Regions from separate parts of the Homo sapiens genome. Here region 1 is linked to region 2. The links are contacts of gene promoters, found by promoter capture Hi-C in blood cells and fetal thymus (Javierre and others, 2016). All regions are on one chromosome and are shown on one strand. The core of a region is centred on a gene start or on the middle of the fragment in contact, and the rest is flanking DNA. Distances in the headings are between cores, read along the strand shown.

Region 1 (6,166 bases), core at 2,760-5,259, 230 kb before region 2:
ACTATTTACATTTTTCATCTAAGCCAGAAAGACATAGATAAGAAGAAGGAGAGGGGAGATAGGAAAACTCATGAATGACCCTACAAACAAACATGGAGCTACCCAGATTGGGAGAACTGACTTTCCGATTCTACGGGATGATTGAGAAAGAGCCAATCTAGAGTTAATCTGTCACAGTAGGTTTCAGGAATGACTCTTACAGATGTTAAAGCTTTCTTATCATTTTCCATTATCTTTAATCCCCTGTTTGTTTTCTTGCCCTGTCCAGCACAAAATTGCCTTGATGACTTCCAAAGTATTTCCAGCCTTATTAAGGGTTGGAGTAGAGCAAGAGAGATGGACAGCTGGGTCCCTTCCTGCAGTGCCCATGTGGGAGAGCAAAGTCTGGGGGAAAGCAGGTGGTGATGGCTCAGAAGGAGAGCAGCTAGCCAATCCTTGGAAACCCTGAAGAAAGAATCCTTCACTACCCAGAAATTATTCCAAGATAGTTCCCACAGGTAAATGGTCCTGTAGCCAGCCATCCAAAGACATTCTCAAAAGAAGGGCCTGGACCTTTAAGAACCACGGGAGGAAGTTCTAAACACTGTAGAGATCAGGGCTTGAGACAAATGCTGGGGCCAACCCAGAGGGCTTTATTGATCTATCAGAGCCAGGGAACAAGGAAGACAACTCGTAGACCTAAGGGAGACTGTAGTGTAAATATCTGCCAAGAAGAATGCAGAACTACTCAGAACTGCTCAATAACGCTTTTGTTTCTGTATCACGGAAAATGATCTTTCTACCAGGAAGCGTATAATAAAAATAAGCTTAGAGAGCTATGAAACCCAGAGAGGGAGGAGCCTACAGCTTTAACATCCTGAGTGCGTGAGATAGAGCAGACAGAACTTCGAGCTCAGATGAGTCATATTGCAGGGGGCTGGGAGCTGTTGCGGGGTGATGGCTGAACAATTAGGGCAATGAGAGAGACACGACAAACACCCAAAGGGTCTGATGTAAAGATTTTTTTTTTTTTTAAAGAGGGAAATGTGGAGTCTAAGAATTATGAACAAGTTAGTGTTACTTCCTGGTTAAAGATTAGTACCTATCATTCAGCAGTCAGTTTTTCAGCCTTAGTCATGAGTAGAATTTAGAATAGGTGATGCCAAACTAACCACATTTTTTCTTTTTCTGGATTACTACTAGATTAGCAGATCGGGGGAATTCATGGAGTTCATGTGTGTGGATGTTGGCAAAGGCTCTGTCATGGTGCCATATAAATGAGATGGAGAAATGTGAATTGGATAATATCACACCACAACCATGGGCTGGATGGTCAACTGACCAAGAACATGGGCCAGCCAACAGCAGAGGCCCCTCCCAATTCCAAAGTGCAGGAAAATTGATTGGTTGCCACTTTTGAGCAAGAAGCTGATGACTCACTAAATTTCTACTATTGTGCTTGTTAGAGGAATACAATGATGCGTTCCTTCCGTGAGTTAGCCTGTTCAACCCAGCAGTTCCACTAAACATCCACTCAAATGCTTCTACATGAATGTTCACAGCAGCATTATTCCTAACAGTCAAAAAGTAGAAACACCCCAATTGTTCACCAACAGATGAATGGATAACAAAAATGTGGCATAGCCATGCTTCACATGTGTGCATTTCACTGTATATTAGTGTCACCTAATAACAGAATAGGGTATTAGTCTGTTTTCACATTTCTATAAAGAACTACCTAAGACTGGGTAATTTATGAAGAAAAGAGGTTTAATCGACTCACAGTTCCACAGGCTTAATAGGAAGCAAGACCAGGAAGCCTTAGGAAATTTACATTCATGATGGAAGGCAAAGGGGAAGTAAGCGCATCTTACTGTGGTGGAGCAGGAGAGAGAGAGAGCAAAGGTGGAAGTGTCGCACACTTTTATTTATTTATTTATTATTTATATATATTTTTTAATTATACTTTAAGTTCTAGGGTACATATGCACAACATGCAGGTTTGTTACATAGGTATACATGCGCCATGTTGGTTTTCTGCACCCATTAACTCGTCATTTACGTTAGGTATTTCTCCTAATGCTATCCCTCCCCCCTCCCCCAACCCCATGACAGGCCCGGGTGTATGATGTTCCCCGCCCTATATCCAAGTGTTCTCATTGTTCAATTCCCACCTGTGAGTGAGAACATGCGGTGTTTGGTTTTCTGTCCTTGTGATAGTTTGTTTAGAATGATGGTTTCCAGCTGCATCCATGTCCCTGCAAAGGACATGAACTCATCCTTTTTTTACGACTGCATAGTATTCCATGGTGTATATGTGCCACATTTTCTTAATCCAGTCTATCATTGATGGACATTTGGGTTGTTTCCAAGTCTTTGCTATTGTGAATAGTGCCGCAATATGTCACACACTTTTAAACCATCAGATCTTGTGACAACTCACTCACTGTCATGAGAACAACATGGGGGAAATCTGCCCCCATGATCCAGTCACCTCCCACCAGGCCCGTCCTCCAATTCAACATGAGATTTGTGTGGGGACAAAAATCCAAACCATATCAAACAGTAAGCAACAGAAAACATAGTATATCCACAATGGACTATGATTTGGAAAGAAAAAGGAATTAAATACTGATACATAGTACAGCATTGACAAACCTCAAAAACATTATGAAAGAGGACAGTCACCACGACTGCATACTGTATGATTTCATTTTCATTTCATTGTATGAAATATCCCAGATAGGTAAATCTAGGGAGAATGCAAAGATTAGTGGTCACTCAGGGCTGGGGGTGGGGGGTGCAGGTTGGAAGAAATAGTGAGTGACTGTGAGTGGATGCACAGTTTCTTTTTGGGGGTGATGAATTGTTCTAAAAATTGAATGTGGTGATGGTTGCACAACTCTGAATGTACACACAAAAAACCCATTGAATTGTGCACTTTAAAGAGATGAATTATATGGTATGTGAATTTTATTATTTGTATTTCTTTACACATACCAGTCATCTTCTGTTTGGGCGTTAGTTCTCAATTAGGATATAAAAGGATTCAGCAGTGATGGAGTTTCTCACAAAGGGGTGATGGGCCAAGGAGGTCATGGTCAGAAGGGCAGAGTGCACCCTTCACTGGCCCCTCTTAGGTGATGCTTGCAGAGTTGCTCACAGTTGAGCTCTTTGTAAGAAAGAACATAGAGGAAAAGCTGTAAGCTGCCAGCTATAGAAACCCCTGCAATGCTCCCTTCCTTCCTGTGAGGCACTTGTTCTAATGCGGGTAGTAACTTCTTTGAAATGCTCCAATCATGCCTTTCAGGGTGAAACCCCACATCAATAGCCAGCTTGGCAGCTCCCCAAGTTAGGCATCCATGACTTTCCTCTCTTTCACTGGTGCAACTGACACCATCTTGGAGTCCTGGTTGTCCACCATTGGTCATGTGAATTACTGTTGGTAACAGCTCAATAATGCTGTCATTTATAAAGAAGAGTGAACTTTTCTGGTAGAGATACATGTCAACAATGACAACACACCCTGGTTGGTCCTATGTCATAGGCTGTTTTAATTTACATGTTTACTTTTCAGCTCCTCTACCGAGGAACCACAAAGTAGTAATCTTTGCATCCCCAGGGCCCATGAAAGTTCATCCCTAAATGTTGAACGCTCCATAGATTGGTAGCCTGCTAGCTGGCAACTTGGGAAAATTAATTGCAAGAGAATTGAATCCTCAGTGAGTGCTTCTTTGTAAACATGGGATATTGAAATTTCTGTAAAGCAAGCCCTCACATAAAAAACTCACTTTACAGTGTGAAAATGCCAAAGTTGATTTAAAAATAAAATAGAAGTTAGGACAAATATATGCTTTTGCAAGCATTTATTCAGTGTTTAAATTCAAACAGCTCATATAAATGATATGTTCTAAACATTTCTTGGGGGGTACTTGGTCATGGGTAGGGTGAAATGAAGTTTTTTAAAATAAAAGTTCCATAAAGTTTTGACTGAAGGTATCATGTTTTTCCCCAGTTAATCTTTCAGGGTTAAGCATTGCTTTTCTTTATTGTGCCAAGAACCTCCAACTTCTAAGTTAGGTTTAATCTTCTCAAAAAGTATGCTCTGAGTATTTGATGGGTATGAATGTCTCCAAAGGTATTCAATGGAATATGCTGGTAAAAAGAGCTCTTTGAGGCTTCTCATTCTATGAATTTCAACGATTCCATTTTCATAAACTCCCCATGCTTGAGCTGCTCTGAATGAAAACTTGACAACTCAAGCCTATCTGCAAGAAAAACTTCTTTATTCAACACATAATGTAACCAGGGAAGATTTTTCTTTTTTGACAATTCCAATGGTGTTACTGTCCAAAAGGAGTCTTGTTCTCTTAGAATGAAGTTCTCAAAATATAGATTACAGAAAAAAAAAAAAGGAAATTGAAACCTCACTGAGATACTACTTCTCATTTCTCAGAGGGCCAAAAAAATCATAAAGAAGGACACCATACTCATTTCTGCTGGCAATATTAAGTGGTATAATCTTTATAGAAGAGAGTTTGACAATAGCTAGCAACATTATATGCATTTGCCTTTTGACTCATCAATCCCACTTCTAGGAATCTATTCCAAAGATGCTCTCAAAATAAGAAATTCATATACACAAGGCTTTTCATGATGACACTGCTAGTAAGAGCAAAAAACTGGGAATAGCCCAAATGTCCATCAACAGAGTAATGGTTGAATAAAGTACCTTCACATGTTGGAGTACTATGTAGCTGAAAAAAAGAACAAAGTTTTCTATGTATTGGTGTCAAGTGAGAATAATTTTTAAGTGCAATCCAGATGCAGAAAATGTGTATAATGGGTTACCTCTTCTCTGTGAAGGAAAAAACAACAAATATTTACTATATTTATTTGCTTACATAAAAAAATAATTGAAGGACAAATCAAAACTAAAAAATATTACTGTGGGAGAGGGAGGCAACAGAGGAGGGTACAGGTATGACAGCTAGACTTTCTGTTTATTTGATGGTATCTAGGAATTATTACTAATATTTTTAGATGTGATGATACTGTAGTATGTTTAAAAATTGCCTTATCTTTAGTGATATAAACTAAAGGCTTTTTAAAAGATAAAATTATGTGATATCTGGGACTTTTTAAAACTTTTAATTGCATTTATTCATTTATTGTCTTGAGACAGAGTCTCACTCTGTCACTCCGGCTGGAGTGCAGTGGCGCGATCTCGGCTCGTTGCAACCTCTGTCTCCCAGGTTCAAGCGATTCTCCTGCCTCAGCCTCCTGAGTAGCTGGGATTACAGGCACGCACCACCACGCCCAGCTAATTTTTTAATTTTTAATAGAGAAGGGGTTTCACCATGTTGGCCAGGCTGGTCTCAAACTCCTGACCTCAAGTGATCCACCCACCTCGGCCTCCCAAAGTGCTGGGATTACGGGCGTGAACCACTGTGCCTGGCCTTAACTGCATTTATTTTAATGCTGAATTTACTCCTGTGCCATAAGTTTTTGTTTCTTCAGTTTCTTCTGGGACATCTTTTTCTTCTGGGCAACCTCTTCTTTTGGTTTAGGAATAATTTGTTCCTTTTCAGTAAGGATCATCTCGATGTGGCAGGGAATGCTCACGTATGGCTTAATCTAACCATGAGCTCTGTAGGTCTGGTAACACATCTTAGATGCTTTGTCCACTTGGATATGCTCAATGACCAGAGAGTCTACATCTCAACCCTTAAGTTCAGCATTGCTCTCTGCATTTTTAAACATGTGCAGCAAAAATTCAGCACTCTTCTTGGGTCACCAACCTTGTGTCCAGCCCCACTGCTTGGCCTGGGCACACCTACCAACTCCACCACTGTAACGTTGGAATGGTACACACTGTTTCTGTAAAGTGACATCTTTCAGATACTTCATGGCTTTTTGTATATGCATAGCCTTGATGGCCTGGGCAGTTTCACGAGTGTTCTTAAAGTGAACAGGAAAATTTGAACCTCTTGATTTGTATGATTGTGTGGGCTTCTACAGATCAAGTGAATAGCAAACCATTTTCACAGATTACCTCAGGTTGTACCACTTAGTATTGCCAGCAGAAACACTTAGGGGAAGAGCTGAGACTTTCTTTAAAATAATTCGCTGGGGATGGAAGGGAAAGTAGGTTGAAGTAAAGAAACAAGAATGGCCAGGTGTTGAT
Region 2 (5,493 bases), core at 388-2,887:
GTGGTGGGATGGTGAGACAGACTGCTGGTAGAACCTGTCTGCCTTGCTCCTTGGATTTCCTGTAATTTTGGACATTACTTAAATTAAGGCATTGAAACTGAATTACATCAACTTTATCTCAACAGAACAAATTTTGTGCAGCAGAAAACCCAATTTTGGCGGTGAAAAAGTCGTCCCAAAGACAAAGGGTCTTAAGTACATCTGACTTTTCGGAGACAGCAGCAGTGTGTCCTATTCTTTCTCTCCTGGCTCAGACTCAAAGAACTACTGCAGGCAATTCAGGTAACACTATTTCCTGGTAGTGTGATTCAGGTAACTGGAGAAAAAGGAAAATGCTTAAAGCAATAAACTAGTATAAAAGGGAACCTTCTGGAGTCCCGTAATAGCCAGTGAACTAGAAACTCTTGATATTTTATAGATACTGACACCAGTAGGGGAGCCAGGAGCCAAGTGCAACACCAGCCAAGGGTTGGAAGCAGGCAGAGAGAACAGTCATTGCCTGATCCTCTTGCTTCCACCGCAAAAGAGCGCCCCCACCCCAATACTCTCGTTCCTTAAAATGTCCCTATCGGGACCCACGCAGAAATACCCCCTCTCCCCTACAGTAACTCCGTACAATCCCAAATACCCTGCCGGAGTGTGACAGGCTGCGTCCACTTACTGAGCTGTCCCCCGCCCGACGCTGTACTCGGTTCCCGACCTCCAGCGCCCCCAACGCCGGCTGCTCCAGGGACCCCTGGCGCCCCCATCCCCGGCGGGGTTCCACTTTGCCTCTCGAAGTTGCCTGGATTGGAGAAGTAGTCGCGCAGCCGAGGCAGCTCCCGGCCACTCTCTAACAGCTCGGTATGCAGCTCCAGGGCGGTCAGCAAGTATTGATCGCGCAACAGCTGAGCAGCGATCGCATCAATTGATAATCGGGCCGGGGTCTCCCCGGTGCCCCCCAGGGCCACTGCAGCCGCCGACGCCTCCCCAGGGAGCCCTGGCCGCGCACTGCTTCCTAAGGCCACGGGATCCTGTGGCGACAGCGAGCCCGCAGAGCCAGGATCTAGGCCACTTCCGGCGCCCAGCCGAAGTACTGCCCGCCGTTCCTCTGTTGCAGCTACCTCGTCATCGTCCTCATCCGAATCACTGAGAAATGGATTCACGCCGCCACCACTGCCACTACCTCCAGGCGCCATCGCCGCCATCTTATCCTGTCAGGAGTGTGGGCGCCTCCCTGACTGGTTCCGACGGGCCGCAGCCCGAATCCTCTAGGCCTCAGGGGACACAGCGCACCTCCACAGCCCCGGCCTGACCACGTCCTGCCTCCCGACTTAGAGACAAGGAGTACGCTCCAAGGCAGGAGATCCGGATGCAGCTGCACCTGATGCCTCAGCCTCTGCTGCACCAGCAGCCCGGCTCTGCAGGCGTCTTCCTGGTCTCCAGTCTCGCGAGAACTGGAGCGTGCCCCTGCCCCTCTCCCCGATCTAGCCCCGCCCCAGCCCCGCCCCAGCCCACTTCAGCTCCGCCCATTCCCAGCGCCAGATAGCAAAGATTGAAGGCCCCGCTCTCCGCTCAAAAGCAAAACTCCACCCACGACTCCTCCATGATTGGTCAGAGAAGGAAGGCGTGGAGCGGACTGACGGGAGACTGGCCCGAGAATTATCGCGATAGCAGCAGCGGCCGGGCAGGTATTGGGGGCGTTCCGGAATTGAGGGGTGGTTGTAGTGGTGGCTTAGGAATACCCTCCCGGCTATCGCTTCAGTGGGTAGAGGGGACCACTGCCCGAGAGCTTTAATGGAGCTGGGTCCTGCCTTCGCGCTGAGGAGCCCTCGTTTTCGAGATCAGGCCTGACCGGGATAAGCTCCAGGTAAAGTTCAGGGACCAGTGCGCGGAGGGTGTCGGCGCCCAAACTGTGGTGTCGCGCCCGCGGACGCGCTGTTTCCCTACTGCGCTGCACTTTTTCTCGCTATTTGCTGCCAGTGGTGACATTTTGTCCCCATGGATAGCAAGTGCCCAGGCCTGTAGTCGGAATGTGACTTCCTTTCTTTTCCCTTCTCTGCCACATGCTTGCACACTCGGGAGGCCTAGCGACAGCACGACTTCTCAGCCCCGGAGGTGGTCCTGCCTGTGGGTGGGGACGGGGGCTGGAGAGACTAAACGGAAAAGGGAACGCTGAGGTTGGCATTTGCCTGGATCTGGGAACATCGTCGAGTTGGAAAACAAATTGTTAGGTACTCAATAAACGCTTAGGATTTAATACACGATTTACACAACAGGGACCCTTCAGAATATCTAATGCTGTCTCACCAGTAGACAGATAAGTAAACTTAAGCCAAGAGTGGTTGTTATAAAATCAGCTCCACGCCGGGCGCGGTGGCTCACGCCTGTAATCCCAGCACTTTGGGAGGCCGAGCCGGGCGGATCACGAGGTCGGGAGTTCGAGACCAGCCTGACCAACATGGTGAAACCCCTTCTCTACTAAAAACACAAAAATTAGTTGGGCGTGGTGGCGCAAGCCTGCAATCCCAGCTACTCAGGAGGCTGAGGCAGGAGAATCGCTTGAACCCCGGAGGCGAAGATTGCAGTGAGCCGAGGTCGCGCCACTGCACTCCAGCCTGGGCGACAGAACGAGACTCCGTCTCAAAAAAAAAAAAAAAAAAAAAAAAAAATCAATTCCGCTAATAAGGAGTCAAAGGAATTAACATCATTTCTCTTATGTCCCAAACGATTCTTTATCCACTGTCTCCTGCAACATTTCTGACTCGTTCATGCAGGCTAGAATCAAGGTTTTGGAACTTAGAACTATTTTAAAAGTTGAATGCTTCAGAGAGTTTTGATTTTTTTGATGAAATGTTAGCATATAAAGTACATATCCTAAGTTTAGAAGATCAACGTTTATCTTTTATGTCATTCCTTGATTATGATCTGAAAAGGTAAAGGAATTTCCAGTCAATACAATTAGACTGCTATTTCTTATGGCTCCTATTTTTTTCACACACAAATGACCACTTTTCCAGGCTTTAGATTTCCTTTCTTAGTGTACAGGTAAGTGACATATTACATTCAGTGTGTAGTAAACATTCCACAGTAAAGTATCTCCCGTTAGCTCCATGGAAAAATTAAAATAGACGATTCTTACATAACCTTAGGTCAGGTTATTGGTTTACATGTAAAAGTATGCCAACAGTTAAGAGTAGGCTTTAATTTCAATATACCCAGGCTCAATAAACTAAAATTTTCATTTGAATGGGGATTTGGGTTTTTAAAATTTTATTTTTGCTAGAAGTTTAAAAAAAAAGTACCAAGAATTTAAACTATTTTTTTATAGGACATTAGTTCCCAATGTTTTAATGATAAATAGTTTTCTGTGCCATATATTAAAAGTAAAACATGGGGAAAAAAATCCCCCCAAATAGAATTGAAATGGCAAATACTGTATCCTGTTAGAGATTTCTTAGCAAAAGGGATTGCTGATCCGTATTTTAGTTGGATTTTCCAGAGAGATTAAAATGGAACCAATTTCTGGAATCCAGGAATGGAGGATTAGTGAATGGCATGGGAAGGGCATGATTAGAAATGGATTGTTTATATACAATATTTCCATCTCCATGATTGGGAAATTGAGAAATCTCCTGCATTTAGGATTCCTGAAGAGGATTATGCTTATAAGATAGAAAAGCTTAAGTTCAGATCCCAATTCTACTCATTATTTATTGTGAGACCTTGAAAAAGTTACCTAACTTCTCAGCCTCACTTGCATTCGTCTATCAAAGGGGATAAGGAAAGTACACAGAATTGAGAATGTTCTTGTCCCAGTGCCTGGTACCTGCTACACAATAACTATTACTGTGGTCACTTATTAATTATTGAAATATTAGTATGTGTTGAGAACATTTGACAAGTGTTTAAAAATAAAACTAATATCAATCGTTTTGGCAGTGCAAGCCTGAAAAAGCAATTAAGTCAGTAGGGCTGAAGGGAGTATCTTTAATTTGGGGTCTCAGTTCTAAAACACAAGTTGAAAATAGATTTAAAATGTTTCCTCAGAGTTGTAAGAACTTGCATGTAGAGGAATTCTTCCCATACAAATCTGTGGTTTTCTGCTTCTATTTCTGCCTCCTATCCTATAACCATGAACTTGTGTGTTTGATCTTGTAAGCCCATTAGAAATCAACTGCCCAGTCTTCCCAGTATGTACTTTTCTTTTCCACAATACACAGAGGTTTGGTTATTCGTGAATAATGTATAAGTAACACACACTGGAATATTAAAAATTACCGATCACTACTTATAATAATGTATTATTAATAGTGTTGGGAAATTTCCTTTCTACTTAGTAAGATTTTCATTAATCTAGGCCCTTACAACTAATGTTTCATCTGACTAATGATAGTTATTAAAGCTTGTGCCTTAGCAATGAAGATGTAAAAGATGCCTTTTTTCAAAGCACGTCAATCATTTTAGTATTTAAAAAATTATTTTAGGTTTTAATAGTCTTAAAAGAACCACAAGTAATATTCTGAATGCAAGTTTTGGTTGACTTGAGGTTTTAGTAATACCTCATGTTTTATTGTTTTTCAGTGTGTGGTAAACATCCACAGATAAACTAGATAACTTGTATTGGTACATGCATATATCTTTTTAAAATTTTAATAGTTATGTGTTTGTTTTGGAGGTATTTCTTTTTCAATAAATCTGAATAAATTGTGATTTTCTTTAAAGAGAAGTATTAAGTAATATTTAGTATTAAGCAATTAAACTAATTAAAATAAGTAGTTAGTGAATGCTGATATTTTGTAATAACTGCAATTTTATTTACATTAATAGTAAATTACTTTATCATAAAAGGTTTAGTTTTTTTTTTTTTAAAGTATTTTCAGTCTTCACATCTTGTTCTGGAGGAACAAAAACAGAAGCAGGGCATCCTCTAGTGGCTGTAGTGCATATTGCATTTACCCTTGAAATGATAATTCTAAATAATTTATTCAGCAAACATTTGAGTCCTTACTAAGTGCATAAGACTCTGATGGGTGTTGGAGATGCCCCGTCCTGCTGTCATGGAATTGTGGTGAAGTGACAGAGACAGACATTAATTCAAATAGTCGTAGACAAAGCTATGTAATTACAAACTGAAGTAAAAGTTTTCGTTTCTGACTTCACCTGCATAGTCCCTGAGGAAGTGATGCTTGAAATGGAATGTTAGGAGAGAGTGGAAGATAGGTTGCAAGTACATTCTGCAGAGAGGAATTGAGCCTACAAAGGTCTTATAGCAGTGGGATACTTGAATAAAAGAAGGGGCCAGTGATGTGAGATGTTACAAAGTAAAGGGGAGTGCTATGAGACAGGTTTAGAAAAGAAGGCAGAGGCTAGTCTATAAAAGACCTTGTTAGTCACATTAAGGATTTTAGTCTAGATTAGTAGGTGAAAAGGCACTGGAGAGTTTTTTTTTTCCAGCTGTGACTTCATTTTTAAATTTATTTTTTAATATACGATTTTATGTATTCATTGTGT

The links. The method cuts DNA at HindIII sites, captures the fragments that hold promoters and counts their contacts. A CHiCAGO score of 5 or more calls a contact.
Region 1: a fragment that was not itself captured here is called in contact with the fragment with the promoter of PIGN in region 2 in 4 of 17 cell types (megakaryocytes, M2 macrophages, M0 macrophages and 1 more); the score reaches 7.8 in megakaryocytes.

What each region holds. Positions count from the first base shown.
Region 1 is chr18:62,415,531-62,421,696 of GRCh38, reverse strand. It overlaps the pseudogene RPL17P44. Among named protein-coding and RNA genes, the nearest start is that of TNFRSF11A, 93 kb to the right of the region's middle. RefSeq lists a silencer at 939-988 and an enhancer at 3,263-3,312. The HindIII fragment of the contact is 6,401 bases long and covers 809-6,166 here.
Region 2 is chr18:62,183,200-62,188,692 of GRCh38, reverse strand. It overlaps PIGN (phosphatidylinositol glycan anchor biosynthesis class N), which reads left to right and starts at 1,637. Exons shown (of 31, transcript NM_176787.5): 1 at 1,637-1,849. RELCH (RAB11 binding and LisH domain, coiled-coil and HEAT repeat containing) reads right to left here and starts at 1,438. Exons shown (of 29, transcript NM_001346231.2): 1 at 662-1,438. The coding sequence starts at 1,187. RefSeq lists silencers at 753-972, 1,923-2,135 and an enhancer at 1,123-1,332. The HindIII fragment of the contact is 4,021 bases long and covers 1-3,663 here.